4 separate regions of the Homo sapiens genome follow, and all the other regions are linked to region 4. Evidence: promoter capture Hi-C in 16 types of primary human blood cells and fetal thymus (Javierre and others, 2016). All regions are on one chromosome and are shown on one strand. The core of a region is centred on a gene start or on the middle of the fragment in contact, and the rest is flanking DNA. Distances in the headings are between cores, read along the strand shown.

Region 1 (3,318 bases), core at 738-3,237, 320 kb before region 4:
TCCCAATCCCGGCTCTGTGTCAGGTCCCCACTGCCTGGCACAAAACAGTCCCTCTATAAATATTTGTTAAACGAATGAGGCCACTTATGAACTAAGTGACCCCAGGCAGGTGACTTCACCTCTCTGCACCGCAGGTTCCTCGTCTCAATGGGAGATGATGATCCCAAGCTTGCTTCAGGGCTCTGTTGATGAAATGAGGTTGTGTGAACATGCCGGCATGTAGTAGGTGTCCAGTGTGTGCTGGCTTCCCTGGCTCCTGGGTTCATCTGGTCCATGACCAGCTGTGTAAGGTCCAGTCAAGGCCCCTGGGGTCGAATGGAGTAACAGCCTGTCCTATGGTTGAAAAGGTCAATGGGATAAGAGGAACAGAGATGAGGCTTGCCTTGGAATGAGGTGGGGCTCTCTGTAGGTCTCAGAACAAGCTCAGCTTCTGTTCTAACTGTGTGGCCTTGGAGAAGTTGCCTAAAGTCTCTGGGCCTTCCTCCTCCCACTGGTACATTGGAATTTCTTCATCAGAAGCTCCAGAAAGTGGAAAATGCTGAGTAGGTGACAGGCCTTAGGGTGATGGCTGGGTAGATTTGAGGCTGAGTGAGCCCATTTTCCCCTCTGCTCCAGCAGCTGGTCCCAGAGCCCTGTGAGGCTGCTTGGTGGGCAGGGTAATATCTGGGACTTGTGCCAGCCAGGGACAGACCCTTCATTTGGGCTCTTTCAGGCTCCGGCCCTGATGGGGCAGAGGAAATCAAGCGGCATGTCTTCTACTCCACCATTGACTGGAATGTGAGTGTGTCCACCCACACCAGGGCTCTGGCCAGGGCTCAGCCATCTTGGCCACAGGAAGGGTGGTGGGAGGGGAGCCTCTGCCAGCGAGGGCCCCAGACGCAGGAGCAGAGGGTCACAGCCTGCCCTTGAAGACAAGGGCTGGCCTCCTGAGGGCAAGCAATTCCGAGAGCTGGGCAATATGGCCTATGTTCCAAGCCCAGCACCTCCTCCTGCATGGGGCTCCTGGTGGGCTGTTGAGGATGCCATGGTGACCAGAGTGCCCACCCCACTGTGCAGAAGCTATACCGTCGTGAGATCAAGCCACCCTTCAAGCCAGCAGTGGCTCAGCCTGATGACACCTTCTACTTTGACACCGAGTTCACGTCCCGCACACCCAAGGGTGCGTCCCTTATCTGTTTTGTCTGTCTTGGGCTGGTACAGGAGGGAAGCCGGGAGTCGGTGGCAGCTTGGGGGGCAGAGATAGTCAGGGACACTGACAGGCCGAGGTATGCGGGTGGGCAGGCGGGTGAGTTTCTGGCTCCGTGGGACTGACTTTGTCCCTGTCTCACTCCGCCCGACTCTCTCACTATGGGGCTCTGTGGGTCTCTTTGTGTCTGGTGAGAGAGTGGGAGTGGGGATGTGTGGGTGGTGAAGGCCACAGTAGAAAAGCCAGGACCCCTGCCCGGGGCACCTTCCAGCCCACTGGGAAGACCAAACACATCAGGCTTACCATCACGTCAGGGAGAAAGAATCTGACCCAGCCACACTGTGTGGTGGCTGAGCAGAGGTGACAGTGCCCATAGGTCAGGGACAGGCATGGGAATCAGCTTTGGCTGCCCTGACTGCCCGGCCTCCGTGTACTTATCTGGAACAAGGGCACAGCCACAAACCCACTCATTCCCTGGGGTTGCTACAAGAAGCCAGTGAGGGAGCTTCTGGGAAGGAACCTGGTGAATCCTAACTTTTTGGCCAGATATTGACAGTGGGTGTGGGGTGGAATGTTCTGGGAAACCTCCTATAAGGGCATGTTTTAGGAGAGGGTGTGCTTTTCTTCTCTCCTCTCCTCCCCTCCCCTCTCCTCCCCTCCCCTCCCCTCCCCTCCCCTCCCCTTCCCTCTCCTTCCCTTCCCTCTCCTCTCCTCTTTTCAAGATGGAGTCTCGCTCTGTTGCCCAGGCTGGAATGCAATGGCGTGATCTCAGCTTACTGCAACCTCCACCTCCTGGGTTCAAGAGATTCTCCTGCCTCAGCCTCCCGAGTAGCTGGGATTACAGGCATGTGTCAGCACGCCTGGCTAATTTTTGTATTTTTAGTAGAGACGGGGTTTCACCATGTTGGCCAGGCTGGTCTCGAACTCCTGACCTCAGGTGATCCACAAGGGGGTGCTTTTCTCACTGCACTTGCACGCCTCTGATGACAGAGACAGCACTTCTCCAAGCAGTCCGCTGGGCAACGTGACAAGTGCAGCTTCGTAGGAGTCAGGGGCCGGAGGAGCAGCATCAGGCAAGGCTTCTCAGAGGAGGGAGCGTGCGAGTTGAGTCTTGAAGGATAGGCAAGGAGTGGATTATCTAGTTAAAGGGAACAGTGTGTGCAAGGGCTCAGAGACCCCTCTAAGGATCTGAGAAGTCCAACATGGCTCAGCTGTGGTATGGAGAGAGAGGAGGTGAGGATCACAGGGCCCTCAATTGCCAGACTCAGGAGCTGGACTTACTCCTGAAGGCAGACGGGAACCTTTGAAAGGTGTGGGCAGGGTGGCAGATTTGTGGTTGGAACCTTCCCTCTGGCTGCTGTGCAGAGATGGACCTGAAGGGGCTGACGTAAGATGGGGAAGCTGGGGAGGAAGCATCCAGGAAGGGATGAACTGTCTTGGCCTGGGATGGAGGTGGATGTGAGAGTCTTTTTTGTTCCTCATGCGACAGGACTGGGCTGGTCTAATAAACACATATGAGCAGTTGGGCCAAGGCCTGTGATGGACAGGCCCTCTGCAGGCTCCCGCCACGGCCAGCCCCTGAGGCAGGTCTGGAGGCCCTGTGCTCCCCCTTTGCTGGGCTGCCTCAGGGTCGAGGGGACCTCCTCAGGTACCCTCACATTCTCCTTCCATCCGTACAGATTCCCCAGGCATCCCCCCCAGCGCTGGGGCCCATCAGCTGTTCCGGGGCTTCAGCTTCGTGGCCACCGGCCTGATGGAAGACGACGGCAAGCCTCGTGCCCCGCAGGCACCCCTGCACTCGGTGGTACAGGTGAGGGGGGCAGGGGGCTGCTGCTCCATTATCCTTTTCTAAAGAATGGCTGAGTACACAGGCTCTGAGTTGGACAGAACCAGGTTCATACCCTCATGCCACTGTGGGACCAGTAGGGCCTCCAACATAAAACAGGGACAGTAAGGCCCACCTCACACAGTGGCCCTGATAATTGGATGATGATATGGGTGTACATTTCCCAGCACAGAGCCAGGGTCTGGGTACATGTCAGGAGGTGCCCAGGGTGGTGGTGCCGAGTGACTGTCGTGTCTCCGGCATAAGTGTAGCGAAGGACTTGGATCTCATCACACTTGTTCCCCAT
Region 2 (3,612 bases), core at 145-2,644, 410 kb before region 4:
TCTCCCTTTTACAGACCCTGTATCATGGCCAAACTGGACTCTTCCCAGTTACCTGTTCCATGCCCTCCAGTTTCCTACCTGTATGTCTGTGCTCTTGCCCCATCACCCAAATTCCCATTTTAAAATCTGAGCTGCTCTGTCTCTAGGCCCTGCCCAATGTGTCCCTATTCTCTGCAGGAAGCCAGGGCAAGGGGCTAGGCTCTGGACCTAGAGTAGCTTACTGAGAGGAAGGCAGCGGGTGGATCGTAAGGGAAGCAGGGACTTGGCTACAAGTTGTGGGGAGCCAGACCTTGGTATCTGAATGGACCATGACAGTCTCCAGGTGGTCACCTAGCCAGTCTTAAAGGCTGGCAAAGGGAGATCTTGACTATGATGCAGTAGGACTTGTCAGCAAAGAGGCAGGGACAAATAGAGAATCAGGCCAGGGAGGGGGTGTGCGGCAGTGCAGAGCAGCTGATCCTCAATCACAAGTTGCATGGATGGTAGGTCCTTGAGAGGTCACTGATGGAGATGAGTAAAAAGTGTTCACCTCATCTCCAAGGATGATATTAGAGAGGGAAAAGACACATGTTCCCACGAAGCTTCCTGTAGTACATTTGTCACAATTTAAACGGGCTGGATTGAACATTATATTTCTTCTGCTCTTCAGGTTGTCACTATCTTCTCCTCAGGATAAAAGCTTGAGTTATGTATGTATGCATATATGTATGCATGTGGAAATGGGGTCTCGCCATGTTGCCCAGGCTGGTCTTGAGCAGCTGGGCTCAAGCGAGCCTCCCACCTTAGCCTAAAAGCTTGAGTTAATGTCTCAGACATTCATGACTTTGAATATTGGCACTGCCTACATAGCTATATGACTGTACAGTTACTTAACCCCTCAGAGTATCATTTTCCTCACCTGTAAAATGAGAGAAGTAGCGTTTACAGTAATACCTACCTTGCAGGTTTGTGATAGGGATTCAGTAAGCTAACACATGTCAAGTGCTGAGTGCAGTGGCTGGAACAGAGTTCATTTTCCAAGAATGGTGGCCAATATTGTTCCCCACATGTGTGTCTCTTGGCCTCTCCTCAGACTCCTCTCTGGAAAAGCACCCTGCACATCCTGTCCCCAGTACAACTCCCCAGGCAAGGAGACTCTGAGGGTGCTTCAGAACATCATGTTTCTGGTAGGAGGTGCCCTTCTCTGCCTGAGAGCAGCCCTCAGAAATGCATTCCTCATGCTGCTGACCTGGGCTGGCTGGTTGCAGCTTGGGGAAGGACTTTTCATTGGCTAATGTTTTGAAGCCAAGGACCTGCAGCCTCTCTCCAGGTGCCAACAGAGTGGTAGAGGACTTTTAGATTTAAGTACTGGAGGGACTATTACATCTTGTTCTCTGATTCTACCAAGGAGAGAATAAGAGCAGAGAGGGATAATGCCCAGGAGGAATTTAGATTCATAGGTTAGAACCACATTTCTCAAAGTGAGCTTCTTGGAGCCCTTGCACCAAGATTGGATAAGGTCTGTACAAAAAGTCTCTAAGGAAAGAATTAACGCCCTCACTTACCCTGATTGGTCATTATACAAGGATAGTAGACAAATGGTCAGGGAGAGAAAAGTTGACCTCTAGGACTTCTGTTAGCTTGGATTTCCCAAGGGTAAGTACTTGAGAAGAACTGGAAACACCTCTGAGATTGAAAGGGTAGATTCAGACCATGTGGAAGCTGGATAGACAGGTATCCAGATACAGGCCACCAGCTTTTCCACCCCTAGAAAGTAGAGCTTATACACAGGCACGAGATACACTTCACATTGTCCTCTCAAGAAGTTATCTTAGTGGAGAAGCCAAGGGAACTTCAGCCATCTCAGCCTCGCTGTCATTTTCTGTAAAATGACGAGCAGACACCCTCCCAACTCTGCTATCTGAACAATGAACTGCTAATTCCTGGCAGACAGGGGCCAGGCTCTGCCTGGGCTACAGCCCCCATTGCTGGCATGCACTCTGATGCCATCTGGAAGAAGCTTGCGCCTCATGAAGTGGCTTTAGCTAGCTCCATATTTCCTCCCTCTGTTGCTGAGCGTCCCCCATCCTTTCTGTTCTGCCAGAAACTTAGACTACTTAGCCCAGTCCACAAGTGGCGGTGATAGAACAGCTAACAGTTAATAGCCAAGCAGTAGGCTGAAAATTCATTATCTCATTTTTCCTCAAACAACCCAGTGAGGTGGGTACTCTTATCCCGGTTTTGCAGAGTAAGAGAGAGCCTTAGAGAGGTGAGGGAGGCCTTAGGAACTTCTCAAACCCCAGTGCTCCAGGTGGACTTACTCTGGCCTTAACAGGCTCTTCGGTTCCATGCATCTTTGCTCATTACTCCCACTGCCAGAATATTCTCCCTGCCCCCCACACACCTCACCTCTGTTTGAATCCTCCTCATTGGTTAAAGGGCCAGCTCAAATTCTGTCTGTCCATGAAGGTCACTGCTCCGTGATGTTCATCAGCCACACTTGCTTTCTCCTCTGAACTGCATGACCCTTACCACATCCTATTTTGCATCGTGGCACTCTGTGTGCATGGCTGTACAATCAGCCTGTAAGCACCTGGATTGCTGGGATCGTGTCCTGCGCATCTCCATATCCTCAAAAAAAATCCTGTATGTAGCACCCAGGGAGCCTCCTGACCAAGGCCTGGAAGAAGCCCTTCCAGCAAGACGGAGAGCTCTACGGCAACTGTTCAAGCCCGAAGTCCTCATAGCTCCACATGTAATTCATTGTAATAGCAGAAGAGAAGTATTCTTGAATGCCTGGGATTATTCAGGAGCCGGGGGGGACAGTCCAGAATTCTCATTTGTCATCCTTATTCATGCAGTAAACCTTTATTGCTGAGAGACAGCAAATCAGTTCCCTGCTCCATGTCTGTCTCCAGCAGAAAGTACCTCCCTCACAGCTCCATTGTGAGGGTCAAGTGAGGCAACAGATGAAGTGGTTGTGCACATGTAAGATATTCTTTAAACCATGAAGACAGAGCAGTCAAGGTGCTTACAGGCTGATTAGGACAAAAACATGTATACAAGTTTATCGTAATACAAGGTAGAATGTGGGAAGGGTCATCAGGGTATAGGATACCATAGGAAAATAGAGTTTCTCACACATGGAATAGGTTTGGCAGGAGGAGCTCTAGTGCAAAGGCTTTGCAGGTCAGTTAGACTGGCAGGAACAGAGAGGATCAGTGAGGCACAGGAAAGCCTTGGTTCTGCTCCAAAGGGATTTTCCGCTCTTCTGTATCAGGAGCATCCTCACTGCTCTCCTGGGATCACGTGGTCAGTCAGTTGAGTGTTTCACATGTACAGGGCACCCCAAGTGCTGGAGAGGAAGAAGCCCAGTCTCTGCCCTCTAGTACTTGGGATGATAACTGCTGCCAGGGAGTATGATCACCACCTGGTGTCAGAGCTGGTTGCAAGAGGCTTGAAGGCTCTCAAACTTCCAAGGGCTTATTTTCTAACAGAAAGAGTGGATTGTGAACACTAACACTTATTCTACTATGCAGAATGCAATAAGTGGCTTAAGAGAGTTGAACCTGCTTCTCAGAATGTTCATAGGGGGGTCATTTGCTGGAAGGATCAGGCTGGTCTTCATACAGG
Region 3 (3,562 bases), core at 11-2,510, 300 kb before region 4:
CACCAGCATCCACCTTGGCTCTGCCAGTGGATCCCCTGCGGTCAGGCTGGGCAGCCCCAGAGAGAGGATGTGGAAAGCACTTTTTGGCTGACTTCATCTGGGGTTGGCAACAGGACAGAGTTCACAGGAGGCCAGTGGGCGGGCCATGAGGGACAGGGTCTTTTTTCATTTCTTCCTCAGCTGGTTACTCAGGGTTCATCTGTCCATGGCCTTTCTAATAAACTGTTGAGTTGAAGCACGCTCTCCTGCACTCTTCATCCCTGAATTTACCCTCTCTCTGCTATCGGATGTTGAAGACATTGGCAGTGACAGAAAATGGGCCAGGGCCAGTTAGCCCAGCTGCTTGGAACCAGGTCATCTGGGGAGTGTGTGGGAATCCCGCTGGCCTGGCCCACGTGTTCCTGCCAGGGGATTCCATTATGGTATTGATAACAGTATTATTAGCCAATGGTGACCAAGTGCCAGGCACTATGCCTGGGCCTCACATGAATATCTCATTTAATCTTAACCCTGTGAGGTAGATGCTCTGTATTATCCCTGTTTTATAGATGGGGAAACAGGCTCAAGTTGGGGAATGACATTTTCTCATGCAGTATTTTCTGAGCACTCATTCTGGCCCTGTTCTGGATGCTGGTGAACCAGGTAAAGAACAAGGTCATTGTGTCCAGGGGTCTTACTTCCCAGTAGGGGAAACGGACACTTAACAAGCCATGGTCAGCTACTGATAAGACACATACAGAATTAAACTGGGGTGAGATATTGGGTAATCAGGGAAGGCCATTCTGGGGAGGTAACCCAGGAGCTGAGATCTGAATGGTGAGAAGGGGTCAGCCAAGACTGGTAGGCAGAGGGCAGTCAGGACAAAGGCCATGAGGGGGAAACAGGCTCGGTGTGCTCAGGGATGAGAGGAGGCTGATGTAGCTGTGACCCCAGAGCCAGGCGTTTGCCCAAGATGAGGCTGGAAAGGAGGCAGAGGCCAGTTATGCTAGGCACTGTAAGCCAGGATTAGGCGTGCATTTAATTCTGAGTGAGGCGCAAGCTCCTAAAATAATTTGAGCAGGAAAGTGACATGATTTGATCATGATTTGATTCACATTTTTAAGAGATCACTCTGGGCCAGGTGCAGTGGTTCACGCCTGTTATCCCACCACTTTGGGAGGCCGAGGCAGGCAGATCACTTGAGGTCAGGAGTTCAAGACCAGCCTGGCCAACATGGCGAAACTCTCTCTACTAGAAATACAAAAATTAGCTGGGTGTGGTGGCGCATGCTCCCACCCATCAGCTCGCAAGGCTGAGGCATGAGAATTGCTTGAATCTGGGAGACAGAGGTTGCAGTGAGCCGCGATCGCACCACTGCACTCCAGCCCAGGCGACAGAGCGAGACTGTCTCAAAAAAATAAAAGATCACTCCGATTGCTCTGTAGAGAATTTGGACAGTGAGGTGGGGAGGCAGGAGGGAAGCAAGGTGACCAGGTTGGTGGCTACTGCAGTAGCCCAGGCAAGAGATGAGGTGGCTTGGACTAGGGTGGTGGGATGGAGATTGGGATGGAGTAGATGGGGTCAGGATATGCTTTGGAGGTAAAGTAGACAGCACTTGCTGGCAGTTTGCATGCAGAGGATAAGGGAAACAGAAGATTCAAGGATATCTTCTAGATTTTTGGGGAAAGAGTTTTGGGGGAAGCATTGGAGAGAAATAGGTTTGAGGAAAATTTTTAGAGCTCTGTGGGAGGTAACTTTTAAGTATCCAAATGGCTGGGCATGGTGGCTCACGCCTGTAATCCCAGCACTTTGGGAGGCCGAGGCAGGTGGATCACCTGAGGTTGAGAGTTCGAAACCAGCCTGACCAACATGGAGAAACCCCGTCTCTACTAAAAATAATAGAAAATTATGCCGGGCGCAGTGGCTCATGCCTGTAATCCCAGCACTTTGGGAGGCCGAGGCGGGCGGATCAGGAGGTCAGGAGATCGAGACAATCCTGGCTAACATGGTGAAACCCTGTCTCTACTAAAAATACAAAAAATTAGCCGGGCCTAGTGGCGGGCACCTGTAGTCCCAGCTACTCAGGAGGCTGAGGCAGGAGAATGGCATGAACCCAGAAAATGGAGCTCACAGTGAGCCGAGATCGTGCCACTGCACTCCAGCCTGGGTGAGAGAGCGAGACTCCATCTCAAAAAATAAATAAATAAATATAAATAAAAATATCCAAATGGAGATGTCAAATAAGAGTTGTAATTAGAAGTTGAAGTTCTAGGGAGAGATCTGAACTGGAAAGATAAATTTGGAAGTCATTAGCTTGGAGAAAGTTTGCAAAGCCAAGAGACGGGGCTTCTGAGAGTGTGGTCCACATACCAGTAGCATCAGCATCATCTGGGAGCTGGGTAGAAGTGCTGAATCTCAGGCCTGTCCCCAGACCTGGTTAATAGGAATCTATCTTATAACAAGGTCTACATGTGATTTCTGTGCATATTAAAGTTTGAGAAGTGCTGTTCTAGGGCCTGAGCAAAGATGAGGGGGTGGGGGGATGCCTGTGCTGAGCCCTGGAGCACCAGCAAGGGACACTCAGGGATGACAGCCAGAGGACCCCCCCACCCCCAGTCTGGCAAGATTCCAAGCCTTATGAACCAGGCCTTGGTTTCCATTATGTCTCGGCCGCCCCACTTTACAGATTTTAGAAAGCTAGGGCCTTAGAAGTGAATAAGTCCTGTTATGATGGAAGGAGATTCTGATAACAGCAGCTAAGTTTTGGGGCTGGCCTAAGTGTACGGATTCTAAGCCCGGCAGCCTCCCCACAGGAGCAAGGAGGGTGCTGTTGGGGCCCCATGGGCTAGGAAGCCCTCCTTTGCAACCAGTGACACTTATGTGGTACTTAGCCCCAACCCATGTCCTGTGTGTTTCACTTCTTGGAGACTTGGTTTCCCCATCTTGGAACCAACATTTCCTGTCCCACCCATCATCCAGGGTTGTCTCCCCTGGACCCCATCACCCAGCTGGAATCCTGAGCATCACCCTGCCTCCTTCCCCCCACTTCTGCATCCTGCCACCATCAATTCTGTTTCCTAAATATTTGGAGGATCCATCCCCTCCTCTCCATCCTCCCTGCCCTTCTCATATTTTTGTTCTTCCAGTAGCCTACTAAATCTCTCCAGACTTTTGTGTCCCCAACATCCTCCATTTACAATCACAAATCTGACCCAGCATCTGCCCTGAAGTGACTCGTCACTGTCTACAAGATATTGCTGAGGCATCCTCGCTTGAATTCAGTGTCCTGTGTGATCTGGCCCCCACCAAGATCCCAGTGTCAACTCTGTAACTTGTCCCCAAACTGCTCACAAGACCCAAACCTGCCGTGCTTCTGCCTCCACTGGATTCTGCTGCCACGTGTGCCCTGCTAATTTCCCATCCTTTAGGAAAATTCAAATGACACCTCCAGGAAGCCAACTAGGACACCACAAACTGTTTGGTGACCTTCCTTTGGGGTCCTCAGACCCCGCTCTGTGCCCCATTTCTGCGTATACCACACTTTTGGAAACAGCTGATGATGTGTTTTCTCCCCACTAGTCTG
Region 4 (3,471 bases), core at 41-2,540:
GATGCCATGGAGGTATGTGCTGCAACTCCTTCTAAACGGGACAAGAAAAGAGAGTGAATGGCCCAGATCAGGCTGGGTAAGTAAAGACTCAAAAGCCAGAGACAAGAGAAGAGAGAGAGGAGGGGACTAGTGTTTTGCTAGAGAATTTCCCTCCAGGATTCCGGGATAATTGGGCCTCTTCACTGCTTTCAAAATTGGCGAGGGCCTTAATAGTGCTTGGGTGGGTCTGAAGCCACTCCCCTCCCCCCTCAGGATTCTTGAGAAAGGGACAGAGAATTCCTCAAATCGGCCTTCCCTTTCTCTTTCCCACAGATCCTAATGGGACCATACTTCCTATATTCTCAGCCACCAGCGGGTGAGCATTTTGCTAATCCAGGCAGACTGGATGTGCTTCAGCTCTGTGGGCTTTAGGGCCTCACCCTCATGCCTAAGCCTCTTTGTCAGGCTGGAAACCTTTCCAATTACCTGTGGTCCCTGCTAAGTTCTTCCAATTCTACACTGTCTTCTAATTGTTGAGGTTCCCAGTTCAGAGCCAAGAAATGCATATAACCTAATGTCAGTGGTTAGTAGGGATGACCAGGAAGGTCCCTTCTAAGACACTCAGAGAGGGCTTCCTCCCTCCCGAAGTTGTAGAGAATTGTCAAGGGAGGTCTGGAGATGAGAAGAGCAATTTCAGACACTATCAGTGAGATGTAAAGTGGCACATTTTTTGGAAAGCATTTTGGCAACATGAATCCAGAACCTGGAATATGTCAGTTATTTCATTTCCAGGACTACCTCCCAAGTTAAAAATCAGAGACTCAGACAATGATTTGGGTACGAGGATATTAATCACACTATTTACAAAAGTAAAAGTTGGTGATGACTTGTAGGCTAGTAGTAGGCTAACCACGGGAGTATGGATAGGTAAACAATGTTATAGCCAAACCATGGACTATTACCAAAGTGACATTAAAAAGGTTATTTACTTGATTGTTTGAGACAGGGTCTCACTCTGTTGCCCAAGCTAGAGTGCAGTGACACAATCATAGTTCACTGCAGCCTCCACCTCCTGGCTCAAGTGATCCTCCCACTTCAGCCTCCCAGAGTCCTAGAATTACAGGAATTGTATCTATTTTTTATTACATGGAATGGTGTTAACTGAAAAAGGCAGGATACAACACAATTATAAAATATCCCACTTATATAAATGCAATATCCACCCCAGGTATAAAAATAAGGCTGAAAGAATACATAAAATATCTCCAGGTATTTACAGAGATGAGAAAAAAAGAGAATACACAAAATATACATTTGAATATAGAATTTATTTTTCTCTTAAACAGATGACCCCATAGAAAGTTTCCGTTATGGGATTCTGGGTGACTCATTTTCGTTTTTTTTTTTTTTGAGATGTACTTTCCATCTTGTTACCCAGGCTGGAGTGCAATGGCGCGATCTCCGCTCACTGAAACTTCCGCCTCCCAGGTTCAAGCGATTCTCCTGCCTCAGTCTCCTAAGTAGCTGGAATTACAGGCGCATGCCACCATGCCCTGCTCATTTTTTTGTATTTTTAGCAGAGACAGGTTTTCACCATGTTGGTCAGGCTTGTCTTACACTCCTGACCTCAGGTGATCAGCCCGCCTTGGCCTCCCAAAGTGCTGGGATTACAGGCGTGAGCCACCGTGCTCGGCCTTCTCTTTCATTTTCTAAGTTTTTTACTTTCCTATATTTATTAGGAAATTTAAAAATAATCTTAAGGATGACTGCCACATGCCAGCCATAATGGAGGATGGTCTTTCTTCTACCCTAGACATTTCACACTGAACAGGCCTCACTTGGATCTCGGACATCTTCCTTTCTGCACTGTGCAGATCCCCTCAGTATATGCAGAGAACAGAAAATCATTTTGCTGCCAGTGGAAGGTAGACAGAAGCTACGTTTATTGGGGAAGAAAATACCCTTGCTGTCAAACCATGGCCTGAAAATAAAGGCCTTGGATTACTCCCACCCATCTCCACTCCATGGGTGCAGAGAATGCTGAGGGTGCTTGCATACGAGACCATAAAGTTGTAAAGGATGCCTTCCAGCCCCCATTTGGTTTGTTATGGTGAGAGCTGGGGCCTCTGTGAGTGGCAAGCATCAAAACCCACGACCACAGCCGTTGGTACTGCTTTCAAAAGCATAGCACCCACCCTAATGCCCTGATAAAGGATTTGTCCAGTAGCCTGGGCGTCAGGATTCCTGGGCTCTAGGCCCCACAGGTGATTCACAGCTAGCCCCAGGCTGTGCCTCCTGGCCTCAGTTTTCCTGGCTTGCTCTATTGGTACTTCCTACCTACTCTGTGGGGTGTTAATAGGGGTGAGGTGCTTTGAACTTCTCAGATGAAAGAGGCTGGGAAGCAGCACCCAGTTATTATCCCCTTTACAGCCAGGCGTGGGAGCTGAGGTTGCTTTCATACTGTTCCAGCCACAGTAGCCTCCTCATAGCCCCTCATTCATCTGCCTTTGGCTCTGGCTGCCACAACCAGAAAGCAAAGCAGTCAGTCCTATTTCAATGCTGTTTCAGAACAGATGTCCCTAAATTAATTTGCCAACTGCCCAAACCACTGGTGAACTATCTATGATTCAGTAATACTTTACAGGTGCCTAATTTCTTTCTCCTGATTGGCTGCAAAACCTGTGGGACAAGGGCTGTGACTTCTCACCAATAAATATACCAAAGGAGGGATACTCGCAATTTAGTCAGCAAAATGGGTTATGAGAAAGCCAGGCTGACCAAAGTTCAAACTTCTCATCTTTCTGCTTCCTCACTGTAACACGGGCAATGGCTTATTAATTCTCCCCATCCTGTCTATCTCTAATGAGGATTGTGTGTGTGGAAGCACTCTAAAATACCAAGCACTTCATATGTGTTAATAAGTCCAAATGTGGCCGGGTGCAGTGGCTCACGCCTGTAATCCCAGCACTTTGGGAGGCCAAGGCGGGTAAATCATGAGGTCAGTAGTTCAAGACCAGCCTGAACAACATGGTGAAACCCCGTCTTTACTAAAAATACAAAAATTAGCCGGGCATGTGGTAGGCGCCTGTAATCCCAGCTACTCGGGAGGCTGAGGCAGAGAATTGCTTGAACCTGGGAGGCGGAGGTTGCAGTGAGCCGAGATTGTGCCACTGGACTCCAGCCTGGGCGACAGAGAGAGACTTTGTCTCCAAAAAAAGAAAGTCCAAATACATGCAAATAAAACTTGGCATAACAGTCTTGCCCAAGCCATCAGTCCTGCCCCTTCTGCCACCAGGTTACAACTGCAAAAAATTAGGTTGGGGTGCCACCTACTGGTTGAAAAATATATGAACTGCATCCAGCCAGTTGCAAGAGCAAAGAAAAAACTTCCAAGCCCTCTTGATTTTTGCCACACTCTCATAGGAACTGCCATATTATATAATTAATATTTTTCTTTACACAACTTACTATTTTTTTTTGAGACAGAGTCTT

The links. Contacts are between HindIII fragments. The CHiCAGO score rates a contact against its expected background, and 5 or more counts as called.
Region 1: a contact is called between a fragment that was not itself captured here and the fragment with the promoter of GPN2-AS1 in region 4, in 6 of 17 cell types (neutrophils, naive CD8 T cells, total CD8 T cells and 3 more). The highest score is 10.5, in neutrophils.
Region 2: a contact is called between a fragment that was not itself captured here and the fragment with the promoter of GPN2-AS1 in region 4, in 1 of 17 cell types (neutrophils). The highest score is 6.4, in neutrophils.
Region 3: a contact is called between a fragment that was not itself captured here and the fragment with the promoter of GPN2-AS1 in region 4, in 5 of 17 cell types (neutrophils, endothelial precursors, total CD8 T cells and 2 more). The highest score is 10.8, in neutrophils.

The regions. Positions count from the first base shown.
Region 1 is chr1:26,555,942-26,559,259 of GRCh38, forward strand. It overlaps RPS6KA1 (ribosomal protein S6 kinase A1), which reads left to right. Exons shown (of 22, transcript NM_002953.4): 12 at 713-777; 13 at 1,057-1,159; 14 at 2,866-2,996. Among named protein-coding and RNA genes, the nearest start is that of MIR1976, 3.1 kb to the left of the region's middle. The HindIII fragment of the contact is 3,642 bases long and covers 167-3,318 here.
Region 2 is chr1:26,464,660-26,468,271 of GRCh38, forward strand. All of the region lies in intron 8 of DHDDS (dehydrodolichyl diphosphate synthase subunit), which reads left to right. DHDDS-AS1 (DHDDS antisense RNA 1) reads right to left here and starts at 2,878. Exons shown (of 3, transcript NR_125953.1): 1 at 2,389-2,878. The HindIII fragment of the contact is 1,205 bases long and covers 793-1,997 here.
Region 3 is chr1:26,574,791-26,578,352 of GRCh38, forward strand. It overlaps RPS6KA1 (ribosomal protein S6 kinase A1), which reads left to right. Exons shown (of 22, transcript NM_002953.4): 22 at 1-235. Among named protein-coding and RNA genes, the nearest start is that of MIR1976, 22 kb to the left of the region's middle. The HindIII fragment of the contact is 5,473 bases long and covers 1-3,562 here.
Region 4 is chr1:26,874,844-26,878,314 of GRCh38, forward strand. GPN2-AS1 (GPN2 antisense RNA 1) reads left to right here and starts at 1,291. Exons shown (of 2, transcript NR_199049.1): 1 at 1,291-1,467; 2 at 3,275-3,402. GPN2 (GPN-loop GTPase 2) reads right to left here. Exons shown (of 5, transcript NM_018066.4): 5 at 1,289-3,471. RefSeq lists an enhancer at 31-530. The HindIII fragment of the contact is 11,262 bases long and covers 1-3,471 here.